Regions from separate parts of the Homo sapiens genome. Here region 1 is linked to region 2. Evidence: promoter capture Hi-C in 16 types of primary human blood cells and fetal thymus (Javierre and others, 2016). All regions are on one chromosome and are shown on one strand. Each heading gives the region's core, a stretch centred on a gene start or on the middle of the fragment in contact. The rest is flanking DNA. Distances are from core to core; before and after follow the strand shown. Region 1 has its middle 17 kb from the start of SYT8. Region 2 holds the start of FAM99B (family with sequence similarity 99 member B).

Region 1 (4,747 bases), core at 56-2,555, 130 kb before region 2:
TGGAGCCCCCTTTGATCAATTAGTGCCTCTGTCTTTTCATTCTTGCCACTTATTTGTTGAAGAAGCAAGGGCGCTCATCCTAAGGAGTTCCCAACATTCTGGGTTTCACAAGTCGCAACACAGCGTTTCAGGTGTCTTTCCTTACTCTATAGTGCTGAGGCCTGATCAGTGTAAGGTCAAGCCTTTTGGCAAGGCCGCTTCATGGAGGGAGATGGCACTTCCTTTGTGCATGGCGGGAGGCACTGGATGTCCTGGAACTTCCTCCTGGGATATGGGGCTGATCAGTGAGTAGGTTTGGGTGTAGCCAGCTACAGCCATAAGCCACTAAGTGCCCAGTGGCTTTTCTTTTCATGGTTTTAGCAGCTGCTGGTGACATTTCCTAGAACAGGGGTCAGCAAACTACAGTCGCCCCCGGCCAAATCTTATTCCCCATCTGTTTTTGTAAATAAAGTTTTATTGGAACATGGCCCCCACTCATTCACTTATGTACCATCTGTGACTGCTTTCATGGTACCATGGCTGTGGTGATTCCAAGAAGGTCCCCCCAGACTTTGTGCCGTGATTCCCAGAATTGTGAATAATTCTCACCCTTGTGAGTGTGTTATGTTGTCTGGCAAAAGGCATTTTGCGGATAAAGTTTAGGCTGCTGATGAGTTGACTTTAAAATAGAGAGAGGATCACGGTGGGCCTGGTTGAATCCCATGAGCCCTGTAAAAGCAGAGTTTGGGTTGTTTTTTTTACCCCCCAGCTGGTGGTAGGAGAGAAATTGAGAGGGATTCACAGTGATTCTCCTCGAGGAAGGCTCTCCATGAACCAGGGGAAAGGACTGAGCACGACCTCCTGCAGAGAGTCACCCTGCCTACAGCCAGCAGGAAGATGGGGACCTACAAACACAAGAACCGAATTGTGTCCACACCGTGAATGCCCCGAGAGTGGAGTCTTCCCCAGCACCTCCAGAGAGGAGCCCAGCCTGGCTGGCATCTGCTCTCAGCCAGTGAGGACCTAAGGAAAAAGCCCTACAGGAATGCCCAGAGCTCTGTTCCACAGGATGCACAGGATTTGTTTCACAGCTGGGTTTGTGGTGATTTATTACACAGTGATAAAAAACAGACACAATGACAGAGAGCAAATGGCCTGCAAAGACAGATGTGTTTGCAACTCAGCCCTTGTAGAAAACAACCACAACAACAAGCCCTAAGTTAGGTTTCTCAGTCTTGGCATTGTGGGCATTTGGGGCCAGGCTGTTAGTTTTCTATGGTGTGGAACAAATTGCCACAAACTTAGTGGCTTAGAACAACACATGTTTCTTATCTCACAGTTTTTGTGGGTAGAAGCCTGGGGCACAACTTAGCTGGGTTCTCTACCTCAGGATCCCATGGTGTCAGCTGGGGCTGCATTCTCATCTGAAGGTCCAACTGGGACAGGGCCTGCTTTGCATTCACTTAGCTTGTTGGTAGAATTCAGGTCCTTGTGGTTGTAGCACTGAGGTCCTCACTTCCTGCAGGCCACCCATAGTTCCCAGTCTTGTGGGCCCCTCAAAGGCAGTTCACACATGGCTCTTGCTTCTTCAAGGCCAGCAGGAGACAGAGAGAGTGACTCCAGAATATTATATACTATAATATAATCCCAGGTGTGACATCTACCACCTTTGCCATATTCTGTTGGTTAACACTTTCAAGGAGAGGGGACAACACAGAAGCACAGCCAACAGGAAGCAGAAATCACTGTGGTTCACCTTAGGGTCTTTCTAACCCAGCCAGATAATGTTTGCTGTGGGGCTGTCCTGTGCACTTTAGGATATTTGTCAGCATCCCTGATCCCTACAGCAACTCTCAGTTACAACAATCAAAAATACCTGTAGATATTGCCAGAGGGGCAAAACTGCCCCCAGTTGAGGACCACTGCCCTAGATCCATCATTTCATTAGGGGTTGCAAAATTGCAATTTTCTAAACTTGGTATTTCTTCAGCATTTATTTGCAAGAGTTCTTCTAAAGATACACTTTCCCACATCAAATATTTGGTACAGGGAAGGCAGAGAAAAATATTGATTATTTTAAATATATATTATTGTGAAATCATAAATTGAAGTATATTACTTAAATGTACTGTATTGAATGTGTGCAGTAATTCTCAATGGCTGTGGAACAAATTGCCACAAACATAAAGCTCCCATTTAGTATATGCACTTCTGTATGCCAGATGTCCTGGTATAGCTTAGCCAGATTCCTCACTCAGGGTCTCACTAGCTTGAGATCAAGCTGTCAGCCAGGCTGTGTTCTCATCTGGAGACCCAACTAGGGAGGGAGCAGCTTCCAGGCTCATTTAGGTTTTGGCAGAACTTATTTCCATGAAGTTGCAGAATTCATGGCAGCTTCCTCCTTCAAAGCCAGCAACAGAGAGAGAGGGTCTCTGCCCCTTCGAGTCTCTAACTTCAGAGAAGCCCTAGACTCTCTTACAAAGGGCTTGCCTGTTAAGTCAGGACCACTGAGAAAAATCTCCTTTTGATTAACTCAAAGTCAACTGGTTAGGAACTTAATTATATCTGCAAAGTCTCTTCACTTTTGCTTTAATCTCTCAGTCAAAGAAAAATCACAGATTCTGCCCTGCCTCAGGGCAGGGGATTAAATAAGGCCATTACTCACTGGAGGCCGCATTAGGGTGTGCCTGACACAATGCCCTTCCATTCATTGAACTTATTGTCTTTACTGGTGACCATGTGGTCCCACATTTGGTCAATGGGGATACATTTAAGTTGACTGGTATGTCATCTTGAAATGACCTCAGTAGTCTTTGATTGTTTCTTAGCTTTCTGATGCAATGAGAAGTTCCAGGTTTATCTTATGTCATGGCTATGTCATGGCTCAGCCCAGAACCAGTCATTTCTCCAAGGGTTCACGGTTCTTTTTGAAGGGAGTTTGGTGGGTATTTAGAGGTCCCACTTTGGGTGCCAGGGTGCTCATTGCTACTAGTCTATTTTCATTGTTTCTAAGCTTTTACTGTGGACAGAATTAGGCAAGACCTATTTTTCCAGTTTTTGTATGGTGGTAAAATATGTGTAACAAAATTTACCATCTTCTAAGTGCACAGTTCCGTGGCATTCAGTACATTCGCGCTGCTGTCATCCCACTATCCAGCTCCAGAATGCCTTTTGTCTCGAAAAGCAGCAGCTCTGCTCCCATTAAATCCAACTCCCCCTCCACCTCCCCCAGCCCCTGGCACTCGCCATCCTACTTTCTGTCACTATAAATTTGACTACTCTAGGGACCTCATACAAATAGAATCATACAGTATTTGTCTTTTCTTTTTTCTTTTTTTGACTGGCTTAGGAAATAACTTTTTTTTGTTTTGTTTTTTTAAGATAAAGTCTTGCTCTGTCACCCAGGCTGGAGTGCAGTGGCATGATCCCAGCTCACTACAACCTCCACCTCCTGGGTTCAAGCAATTCTCCTGCCTCAGCCTCCTGAGTAGCTGGGATTACAGGCATGCACCACCATGCCCAACTAATGTTTGTATTTTTAGTAGAGACAGAGTTTCACCATGTTGGCCAGGCTAGTCTTGAACCCCTGACCTCAAGTGATCCACCCGCCTAGGCGTCTCAAAGTGCTGGGATTACAGGAGTGAGCCACTGTGGCCCAGCTGGAAATATATATTTTTAAAGGTAAATATATCATGGAATCATACTGATATTTCTAATTTACCTACAGGATTTTAAGTTTCTTTCTTGACTTCTTGGAGTGCATACGTTTATCTGAACCGTTTTATGACTGTGAACTGTTTTATGTGAACTGTTTTATGACTGAAAAAACTACAGGGCACAGGCAGGTTGCTCAGCATCCTGGTTGCTGTCTCTTTCAGGTGCCCCTTGCCCCTTTTTGCAAGCTTTATTTTTATTTTTTTGAGACAGAGTCTTGCTGTATTGCCCAGGCTGGAGTGCAGTGGTGTGATCTCGGCTCACTGCAACCTCCGCCTCCTGGGTTCAAGTCGTTCTCCTGCCTCAGCCTCCTGAGTAGGTGGGGCTGCAGGCGCCCACCACCTCACCTGGCTAATTTTTGTATTTTTAGTAGAGACGGGATTTCGCCATGTTGCCCAGGCTGGTCTCAAACTCCTAGCCTCATGTGATCTGCCCGCCTCATCCTCCCGAAGTGCTGGGATTACAGGCATGAGCCATGGCGCCCGGTCTCTTTTTGCAAGCTTTGATTGACAGTTCCATCTTTTAAAAGATATTTATTCACACCCCAAAACCTTTCTTAGTAAACGACAGTGTGTTAATCCCCATCTGGTCTGCCCCATGTTGAGTGCCCCAGACACGGGTCTGGGAGACCAGCCACAGCTTTGCCCAGAGCCTCTCACCCACTGTCAGCCACAGAGGCTCCCCAGCGTGGACACCCCTTGGTTTGTCCAACCAGACCCACTCCAACAGGTGGGTCACCTGCGCCATTTGCTCTTACATGGGGTGCCCCATGCATGGCCAACACAGCCACCGTTTGTAGGTTTTGAGGCAGTTTGGGTGGCCCCAGCTGACATCAAGTGGTCCTGGATGACACCTGTGTTCTTAGCCAGCCTAGAGCTCCTGCCTCAGCTGCCTTCATCCCGGGAATGCGTGGCAAGGCAGCTCTGTGGGCTGCTGTCTTCTGGTGCATTCTCCCTGAGTTTATCCAGAAGTTAGTCCCATTCCTGGGCCCACTACAATGTGGGTTAAGCCCTCATGACTCTGAGATCTCCTCATTCCCGAGGAACATGCTAGC
Region 2 (4,559 bases), core at 540-3,039:
CACCAACCTTCACAGCCTCGTGCCGAGTGAAGCCAGCCAGTCACAATAGGACCAATGCTGTGACCCCACAGATGGAAGGCCCCCAGAGGAGTCAGATTCAAGAGGAAGATGGCAGAATGGTAGTCAGCAGGGCCAGTGACAGAGGCCGATGGGAGTGAGTGATTAGTCAGGACGGAGCTCCAGTTTCGCGCGATGAAAAGGTGCTGGAGCTGCATGGTGGCGACAGTGGCACAGCCACGTGCAGGTTCCCAATGCCACGGAACTGTGCACTTACCATGGGGATGGTGGGAACTCTCATGTACCCGCATTTGACCAGAGAGGAAGGAAGGAAGGGAGGGGGGAGGGAGGAGGGAGGGAGGTAGCAGAGAAGGAAGGAAGGAAGGGAAGGGGGAGGGAGGAGGCAAAGAAGGAGGGAAGAGGGAGGCAGGGAAGGGGGGAGGGAGGGAGCAGAGAAGGAAGGGAGGGAGGCAGGGAGGGAAGAAGGAAGGAAGGAAGTGAGGGAGGGAGGAAGGGAGAGAAGCAGGAAGGAAGGAAGGAAAGAAAGAAGGAAGGAAGGGAGGGAGGGAGGAGGAGGGAGGAGGAAGGGAGGGAAAGAGGGAGGGAGGGAAAGAGGGAGGGGGGGAGCAGAGAAGGAAGGAAGGAAGGGAAGGGGGAGGAAGGAGGCAGAGAAGGAGGGAGGAGGGAGGCAGGGAAGGAGGGGGAGGGAGGAGGGAGGGAGGGAGCAGAGAAGGAAGGGAGGGAGGCAGGGAGGGAAGAAGGAAGGAAGTGAGGGAGGGAAGAAGGAAGGAAGGAAGGAAGGACGGACCAGCCTGTTAGGCTGACTGACAGAGTACCCCCTGTCCTCCAATGCTGCCCACGGCAGGCATGTGGCAGTGGCTGACAGGGAGTGAGTCTGGAAGCGACCCTTGTCGGGGCAGCCTCCTTGGTCCTGTGATTCAGGACAGGGTGAAAGTCAGTGGCGGCCATTGGTGCCTCTGGCTGGGGTTCCTCACAGGGGCCCGCAAGGGGACAGCGAATGGAGCGTGGAGGGTGGAGGGCTCCTTCTCCGGACCGGAGCGATGGGTTCGGGAGCCATTCTGTGCCTGTCTTTGCTGCTGGGCTGAGGAGCTGGATGGCATGCTGGGAGTAGTGGGAGCTGCTGAGGAGTTTGGTCCTGGAGCGAAGAGGCTGAATCCGCATGTCTGGAGTCACCGTGGAGGGCACAGCTAGAGGGAGCAGCAGGGTGTCCCAGGGAGAAGACACCAGGGCTGGAATTAGAGGGACATCAAGGCTGATACTTAGAGGCATCCAATATATGGGGCCTGCCTGATGGGCTGCTCTCAGGTGGGATTTGGGGGGTGTGAGAGGGGTCAGTGCCCAAATGACCATGGGGTCCGTGGCCTGTATGCCCAGTCAGGTGACGACGCCATTCAGAAAGTAGATCTCATGGGGTGCCCGGCTGCTGAGTCTCAGGCCAGATCTGCAATGAGTGCGCTGCCCCAGGCGTGGAACACTCTGGTGCCATCGGGACCCAAGGCTGAGTGCACCCAGGAGCTGTGGGTCTGAAACAGCGGTCAGAGGTCACCGACATGTGAAGGAGGCCCCTGGAGTGTCAGAGGTCACCGACATGTGAAGGAGGCCCCTGGAGTGTGGGATACAGAACCCCCAGGTGTCCAGCTAGGCAGGAGGCTTTGCAGGACTGAGCAGGTGGGGAGGAAGGGCAGGGAGCGCGGCTGCCAGAGGAGAGAGGGCACTGGGGGTGGCTCGACCTGACGAGGCTGCTTGAAGGAGACACTCTTGGAAACTGACAGGGCTGCAGGCACTCCTGGGAGCAGGAGGAGGGTGGCCTGTCCTGGGCAGACCAGCCTCTCTGGGCTGTGTGGCCCCAGCTCCCTGAGCCCAGAGGGAGGTGAGGGTGAGAAGGCCTGGACCAGGCAGGACGCAGCCCCCAGGGCCCCTGCTGGGAAGAGGTCAGAACCTCCCAAGGACCCAGAAGGCCAGGTAACTGAGAACGGGGCTGCTCTCTGAATCTCCAGGGAGGACAAAGGCGGCCATGGCAGCAAGGGGACAGGGCAGAGGGGAAGGCGGGCAGGTGGATGTTGGAAGCCGCAGATTCCCATCCAGTATCCTAGAGGAGGAGACCCAGGGCTGTGTCCTAGGAGGCCCAGGAAGCCTGGTCAGCCTGGAGGCTGAGGGCGGGCCCGGGAGATCTGGTAAGGACATCAGTGTCTCCACGAAGAGCAGCAGGGTCTCAGCCCATGGCAGCCGCAGGCCCCATGACTGGGGCCGCAGCCTCCAGAGCCGCCACAGCAGCCCATTGTTCTGGGGGGTCAAAGGTGGAGGCTGTCAGAGGGGCAGTGCAGGGGGCTGCTGGGGTGAAGCCCCCTGTAGCAGCAGCACCCAGCCTGCTGTGGCTCTGCCCTCCTGGACCCCCTGTCCTCCTGGACCCCCTTCCCTCCTGGGCCCTCCTGGACCCCCTGCCCTCCTGGACCCCCTGCCCTCCAGGACCCTCTGCCCTCCTGGACCCCCTGCCCTCCTGGACCCCCTGCCCTCCAGGACCCTCTGCCCTCCGGGACCCCCTGCCCTCCAGGACCCTCTGCCCTCCGGGACCCCCTGCCCTCCAGGACCCCCTGTCCTCCTGGACCCCCTGCCCTCCTGGGCCCTCCTGGACCCTCTGCCCTCCTGGACCCCCTGCCCTCCTGGACCCCCTGCCCTCCAGGACCCCCTGTCCTCCTGGACCCCCTGCCCTCCTGGGCCCTCCTGGACCCTCTGCCCTCCTGGACCCTCTGCCCTCCTGGACCCCCTGCCCTCCTGGACCCCCTGCCCTCCAGGACCCCCTGTCCTCCTGGACCCCCTGCCCTCCTGGGCCCTCCTGGACCCCCTGCCCTCCTGGACCCCCTGTCCTCCTGGATCCTCTGCCCTCCCGGACCCTTTGCTGTCCTGGGTCCTCTGCCCTCCTGGACCCCCTGCCCTCCTGGACCCCCTGTCTGTGGCCCCTGCTCCCCTCCTCCTTCCCCGACACATGACTGGACCCCCCGATCTGCAGCCGGGGTCTGGGCACTGGGGGTCCTGTGGGCCTCTCGGTGTCTGGGGACAATCACAGGTTCCCGTGCCCACACCCAGCCTCTGCTTCCAGAACACACTAGAGGGTCCCGGCATCCTGATGAGTCCACTGTCCCCGCGATGGTTTTCAGGGATGGAGAAGGCTCCCTGTCCTCCGCTGGAACCCTGCAGCCGGGCTGACGGTACCCCCACCACCCACCCAGGGGCCCCCAGACCCTCCCCATCTCCACCGCCAACCCAGGCCCCGGCTGCGCACGCGGGGCCAGGCCGTGAGCTGCTGTCCCCGGATGGGGCCGCCCCGGGCTGGCCTGGCTCACTCCGTGTCACAGATATTCCCACAGAGACCCCAGCGAGACCTGCAGAACATTACAGCAGAATGAAGGAGAGCCAGAGGAAGAGGCAGATGTGCTGGCCTGTAAACAGTCTGATTTCCAATGTAAACCAGATTCAGGCCCACGACATCAGGTAAACATCTGCATCAGAGCCCCCGGCCCCCCACCGCCCGGGAGGCCCCGGGGTCCACACGGCCGACTCTGGGACCCGTCACAGTGACCGCCGAGACATTTCGTAATTAGGCAAAATTGATCCTTGCATTCCTTCCCTAAATCCCAAATCTCTGCAATTTTACTTCTTCTCAAAAATGAAAACATTTGGCAATTAGCTGATCCAAGTGAAAAAGGTAGAGAATGTGCTCTCAACTGGAAAATGCCAATTAAGGAAGCAGCTCTGACTTCCCACCCGCCCTGGCTAAGCTGGGAGCTTATCTTCCCCGAGAAGAATCTGCTGGGATAAGGGGGCTTGGGAAACACCGAGGGCAGGGCTGCCTCCTCACCTCCTCAGCTTCCTCTGAGAGCAGATTAGCCGTGGCCTTGTGCCAGCAGGGCCTGGGTGCCACACCGGGTGGCAGCGGGTGGCAGAGCCGGGCCCCGCTCCGGCACTGGGATTTGGGGTGGCGGGACCCAGTGGGGCACCCGCTTGTGGGCAGCACTGAGGGCGGTGACGTAGGCAGCGGGTGCCGGTGTCTGCCCCTCCATCTGGCCGGGCTCCCCACCCTGCTCCTGCAGCCCTGGACCTCAGGGCCCATTTGCGGTGCAAGGCGGCTCTTGGTCGGTCTCCACTCCTAAACATTTATGCGTTGAAAATGCCCATTTGTTTGTTTTCTTGTGTTCCATTTATGTGTTCTGTATCCTTTTTTACTTAATTTAAATAATTTTTAAATGTGAAATCGTTAAGTAACCTCAGACGCTCAAACTTTCTGTTCTCCACTCACCGAGTCCATGAGTTCTGTCTCCTTCTTCCCGTGGTTTCTGTTTGCAACAATAACGGAATACCTGCATGTCTAATTTTTTTTTTATTCAAAAGGCAGCATACAATGTATATTCTCTTTATCAAGCTCGTGATTTCTTTTAAAGATTTTATTTTGAAATCATTACAGATTCACAGGAAGTCTCAAAACTAGTACAGAGATTTCCACATGCCCCTCAACCAGTTTTCCCAACGGCTTCGTCTCCCTTAGC

Evidence for each region. The method cuts DNA at HindIII sites, captures the fragments that hold promoters and counts their contacts. A CHiCAGO score of 5 or more calls a contact.
Region 1: a fragment that was not itself captured here is called in contact with the fragment with the promoter of FAM99B in region 2 in 7 of 17 cell types (naive CD4 T cells, fetal thymus, total CD4 T cells and 4 more); the score reaches 7.0 in naive CD4 T cells.

Annotation. Positions count from the first base shown.
Region 1 is chr11:1,815,626-1,820,372 of GRCh38, reverse strand. No RefSeq gene overlaps it. Among named protein-coding and RNA genes, the nearest start is that of SYT8, 17 kb to the left of the region's middle. The HindIII fragment of the contact is 3,378 bases long and covers 1-2,994 here.
Region 2 is chr11:1,682,859-1,687,417 of GRCh38, reverse strand. FAM99B (family with sequence similarity 99 member B) reads left to right here and starts at 1,789. Exons shown (of 3, transcript NR_026642.1): 1 at 1,789-1,980; 2 at 3,116-3,224; 3 at 3,384-4,148. RefSeq lists an enhancer at 1,684-2,453. The HindIII fragment of the contact is 16,209 bases long and covers 1-4,559 here.